Regions from separate parts of the Homo sapiens genome. Here region 1 is linked to region 2. Evidence: promoter capture Hi-C in human tissues and cell types (Jung and others, 2019). All regions are on one chromosome and are shown on one strand. The core of a region is centred on a gene start or on the middle of the fragment in contact, and the rest is flanking DNA. Distances in the headings are between cores, read along the strand shown. Region 1 overlaps RNPEP (arginyl aminopeptidase). Region 2 holds the start of ARL8A (ARF like GTPase 8A).

Region 1 (2,700 bases), core at 121-2,620, 150 kb after region 2:
CACACCTGTAATCCCAGCACTTTGGGACCAAGGTGGACAGATCACCTGAGGTCAGGAGTTCGAGACCAGCCTGGCCAACATGGTGAAACCCTGTCTCTACTAAAAATACAAAAATTAGCTGAGTGTGGTGGAGGGCGTCTGTAATCCCAGCTACTCTGGAGGCTGAGGCAGGAGAATCGCTTGAACCTGGGAGGTGGAGGTTGCAGTGAGCTGAGATCACGCCACTGCCCTCCAGCCTGGGTGACAGAGCGAGACTCCATCTCAAAACACACACACACACACACACACACACACACACACACACACACAAAGAACCTCATCTCCTAGGCCCTCTCCTCAGCAACAGTGAGAAGCCTGGCTCATACCCTCCTCTCTTCCTCCTCTCCTTCACTTCTGGGATCAGGGAAACTTTGCTCTGGGAGGCAGGAGGTGGAAAAGCCACACGAAGAGGAAGAATGGAAGCCAGTGACTCAGTTTAACAGGAGACACTAGAGTCAATGTGATACCACACCTTCCCCAAACATAAGGTCCAAAAAGCTTCTCTCCTGTTGCCAAAAATTCTTCTATCACCCCGTTGTACTCCTCCTTGGCAGCATCAATCAGGCAGGGCTCAGCCCACACCCGGCTCCTAAAGACAAGAGAGCAGAGAAAGCAGAATGGTGTTTAGAGACCATCGCAGTGACCTGATCCTGAAAGCACCTGTAGGAAATTGGCCTCCGCCAAGTGAATGTGACAATGCAGTCAGCCACAGTGACGGAGTGCAAGATCGGATCACCACACAGATCCAAGAGACCGCTCACCACACCTGAGAAACAAGAACCCAAGACAGCCTCATGGAGGTGGAACCGTGCTACGCAGTTATGGCTTCACTACTGAATGCGATCTTGCAAAAGTGATTTAACCTCTGTGAGCCTCAGTTTCCTCATCTGTAAAATGAGTGAAGATTAAATAAGACAACACACAAAAGCCCTTCAAACATTTATACAGTAAATGTTAGTTTTCTTCTCCCTACTTAGAGGAGAGATAAGAAAGCGTTCTAATAGTAGAATCTGGAATTGAATAAAACCTTAAGAGACAAACCTTTTTTATTTTTTTTTTAAGACAGGTTCTTGCTCTGTTGCCCAGGCTAGAGTACAGTGGTGTGATCCAACCTCCACCTCCTGGGGCTCAAGTGATCCTTCCATCTCAGCTCCCCAACCCCAGTAGCTAGGACTACAGTTGCACATCATCATGCCTGGCTAATTTTTTTATTTTTGTAGAGGTAGGGTTTCGCTATGTTGCCCTGGCTGGTCTTGAACTCCTGGGCTCAAGTGATTCACCTGCCTCAGCCTCTCAAAGTGCTGGGATTATAGGCATGAGCCACTGTGTCCGACCCAAACCTACTAATGTTAATAGAAATTTGTTAACTGCCTTAGGTACAATAATGGGATTGTGGTTATAAGGGAGAATGCCTCTATTCTTCAGAGAGGCACACAGATTTACTTGCTTTTAAATGGTCTAGCAAAAATAAAAACAAATCCACTCATAAAACTAATATGACAAAGTAGATGGTTCTATAGGTGTTCAATGCATCATCCTTTCAATTTTCTAAATATTTGAAATTTTCTTAATAAAAAGATAGGGAAACAAAGGTGGCTTGGAGGAAACAAAAACAAAAACAAAAACAAAACAAGAAGATCCAGTCTAATGGAAAGATGCAATGGACTCAGGGATCCTGCAGCCAAAGGCTCTGCTTGACCAAGAGCCCCTGGCTGCGCTTAGAACTGCTTTTCCACACAGACATATGAATGAGACTGGCTGGGCCTGGTGGCTCATGTCTGTAATCCCAGTACTTCGGTAGGCCGAAGTGGGTGGTTCACCTGAGGTCAAGAGTACCAGACCAGCCTGACCAACATGGTGAAAGGCTGTTTCTACTAAAAAAAAAAAAAAAAAAAAAAAAAATTAGCAGGACATGGTAGTGTATGCCTGTAATCCCAGCTACCTGAGAGGCTGAGGCAGGAGAATCGCTTGAACCTGGGTGGCAGAGGTTGCGGGGAGCCAAGATTGCACCATCGCACTCCAGCCTGGGTGACAGAGTAAGACTCTGTTTCAAAAAAAAAAAAAAAAGAGACTGATGGCAAAGTGGGATGGGTCCAGGCCCGGATGAGGGAAAACTTCCTCTGCGTTTGCTGAAGCATAGGAACTATTCTAACAGGAAGAAAAGATACAGGGAAACCAGTATCAGGTACTTCCCAAATATCAAAAGCAAAGACGTAGCCATGGAACACTGCATATGCATGTGAGGAAGCACCGAGAGTCTGGGATTACTTGAGGACAGGATCAGATTGCAATGAGGGAGGCAGTGGCAGGAGGTGGGACATGAGATGCCCAAGAGGGTCGGGTCATGAAGAGCCTCAGGTGCACTGTTACAGAACCGGACCTTCAGAGCCATGGGAGCATTTTAAGCCAACAAGTGACATTATCAGATTTAGTTTTAAGATATCATCCTGGCTGCAGAACACAGAAAATATGTTAAACTACAAGAATGGGTGAGCTCTCCAAGGAAAGCATGTAGAAGAAAAGAACAGGTCAAAGACAGAGCCTTGGGCAACATCGACACACAAGGAGCTGGGCAGAGGAGTCAGGGAAGGAGATGAGAAAAGGACTAACCAGGAGGCCTGATGACCAGCATGGGTGGTGTCACAGAAGCCAGAGGAGGGT
Region 2 (2,700 bases), core at 140-2,639:
TGGCCAGGCTCATGCCTGTAATCCCAGCACTTTGGGAGGCTGAGGCAGGCAGATGGCTTGAGCTCAGGGCTTCGAGACCAGCCTGGACAACATGGCAAAACCCCGTCTCTACCAAATATACAAAAATTAGGCTGGCATGGTGGCGCATGCCTGTAGTCCCAGCTACTCGGGAGGCTGAGGTAGAAGAATCACCTGAGCCCGAGGAGGTGGAGGCTGCAGTGAGTCGAGATCCCACCGCTGCACTCCAGCCTGGGCCACACAGTGAGACCCCATCAAAAAAAAAAAAAAAAACAATATTATGCTAGCCGAAACCTTGTGATTCTTCTACTTTGGTAACTGTTTGACTATTTGGGGTCATCTAACTCCAGTTGATTGGACAGATATGGTTGATATTGATAGTTTACCCACTTTTGACTAAAACAATAGACTACATATGACTACATTTGAAAACCAAACCCCAACGGGCAGCCAGCATAGGCTGGGGACTGCCCGAAGCCTGAGCCTACCCGGGACTGCCAGCTGAGGTTGTCAGCCTGCCTGAGCAGGTCCTATGGGTGGGTCTTGCAAGGAGAGGGGCAGGAGTAAGGCATCTTTGCAGGCACTCCAGACCCACTTCAAGAGGAGAACTATCACTTCTCCTCCTGAAGAATACTCTGCTTTTCACCAAAACAGGGCAACATTTTCCTTTGTCACAGACGTTCCTCACTGAAAACCCCCTGCCAGGACTGTATCTGTTTGGGTATCTTGGGGATGCTGGTAAAAATCCGGAGCAAGTTCAAGCGTCCGTTTCACTTGGGGCCAGAGGCTTCCTAACAAGTGGTCGGGGTAAATTGTGGTGAACAAAACAAGATGGAGTATTAAAAGACCCGAATACGGTTGTCCCTCTGCACTGGGTGCATTTTGAGAGGATGGGACTGTACCCAGGAATGCTCAGAGGCAAGGGTTCAGGGACAAAAAAGCCTCCATCTGCCTCCCTGTCGTAGAGATCTCATCTCCGTGTCCTGGGAAGTGGGTGACCCACTCTCCTTCAACCTGAAAAGGCTCCTGCTTAACCGGAACCTCACCCACCTCGAGCCCACCACCCTTTAAGAAAGGGGGTGCCAGTCAGGGCGCGGCAGTCGGGGACAGGGTCTAAAATAAATTAGACCCCATTTCCCAAGCGCCTCTCGACGCCAGCTGCCGGTCAACCCCCGCCGCTGAAGCCTGCGGATTCCCTGCTCACCCCACCTGCGGATTCCCTGCTCACCCCACCTGCGGGTGCGGCCCCTGGCCCCCCGGCTCCAGCGAGGGAGGAGCGCGCGCTCGGGTGCGAGCAGGACACGGCCCGGCCGCGAGGGAGGGCGGCGGCGGCGGCGGAGGAGGAGGGCGCGGAAGCCACACCCATCGGCGAGCCGATTCCGGGGCAGCGAGTCGTCGGCAGCCGCGCTCGAGCCTCCGCCCGCACCGAGCCGCGGGACCCGGGCCGTACCGGGGAGGGGCCGCTCCGGGCCGCAGCGCGAGGGCAGCGAGGGGCGGCGGGGACCTGGCACCGGGCGGGGCCGGCGGCAGCGACCATGATCGCTTTGTTCAACAAGCTGCTGGACTGGTTCAAGGCCCTATTCTGGAAGGAGGAGATGGAGCTCACGCTGGTCGGGCTTCAGTACTCGGGCAAGACCACCTTCGTCAACGTGATCGCGGTACGAGGGCGTCGGGCGCGGGGTCCCCGGGCGCGGGCCGCGGGTCGGGCCTGTCCCCGCCCGCGCCGCGCCCTGCTGAGCCGGGGTCGCCGCCTGGCATAGCCGGGCACGGCCGGGCGCCGGGCGGGGGAGGAGCCGGCCCCGAGCGCTTGGGGCCTAGTACGGCCCGTGCCGTGGGGGACCGGGGCGGCGCGCGACCCGCTCTCTCACCCGGGCCGGTACTGCACGGCTGGGGGCAGGGGAAGGGGGACGAACAGACAGGGCCGGTGCCACGGGGCAGGCGGCACCGAGGGGCTCTCGAAGCAGGAGGGACCCGCTGCCGGCTGAGACGGGCCCCCTCTGGCCCCCGCGCAAGGGGGCATGACGGGGCGAAAGTGCACGGGCCTTCCTGTCCCGCGGGTAGAGGGTCACGGGACGGGGCGGCCGAGAGGCTTGAGGAGGGGGTTTGGGCAAGCCCAGCCCCACCCAGAGGGCTTAACCCCTCCTTGCCGGAAGAGGAAGCCCCGGCCCTATTGAGGGGGAGGGGAGGTATCCCCCGGGGTAGAGGAGTCAGCTGAGGCCCTTGGCTCAAGCCCAGACTCCTCCCCAACTTCTCCCCGACCCGCAGTGTCTAGCCGGGGGTCCAGGGAGGATCGCATGGTAACGGGAGTTTGGAGACTCCGTCTGGCTCAGAAGTTTGCAGGAGCAGGTGCTCCCGACAAGAGAGGATGAGGTGTAGGGGCACGGCCCACTGGGGCCTTGGGAGAGTGGCTCTAAGGGCTTTGGGTCGTCAACACTGAAGTGGGTGATTGTAAGTCTTTCAGCGCCAGGGGAGTGGTGGGGAAGGAGTTAAAATCTCTCTCAAAAAAGGGGAAGATGAGCTCCATGGGTGTGAGCTGAGGCTGCCGTAATGGCTGCGGCCTGCCTGTCAGAGCCAGGCTAGACAGGGCTTGTGGGTCGAGGAAGCATGGGACAGGGGCTGGGGTTGTCCAGGGACCTGGCCCCAGTCCCAAAGCTGAGGTTTCCCACAACTGTGAGTTGGCCA

The links. The method cuts DNA at HindIII sites, captures the fragments that hold promoters and counts their contacts. A contact is called where the count stands out against the background at its distance.
Region 1: a contact is called between a fragment that was not itself captured here and the fragment with the promoter of ARL8A in region 2, in 2 of the 25 tissues and cell types used here (dorsolateral prefrontal cortex and stomach).

Annotation. Positions count from the first base shown.
Region 1 is chr1:201,994,075-201,996,774 of GRCh38, reverse strand. It overlaps RNPEP (arginyl aminopeptidase), which reads right to left. Exons shown (of 11, transcript NM_020216.4): 4 at 512-628. Among named protein-coding and RNA genes, the nearest start is that of MIR6740, 7.7 kb to the left of the region's middle. The HindIII fragment of the contact is 5,206 bases long and covers 1-2,700 here.
Region 2 is chr1:202,143,426-202,146,125 of GRCh38, reverse strand. It overlaps ARL8A (ARF like GTPase 8A), which reads left to right and starts at 1,389. Exons shown (of 7, transcript NM_138795.4): 1 at 1,389-1,676. The coding sequence starts at 1,554. RefSeq lists silencers at 1,189-1,898, 2,399-2,448. The HindIII fragment of the contact is 36,256 bases long and covers 1-2,700 here.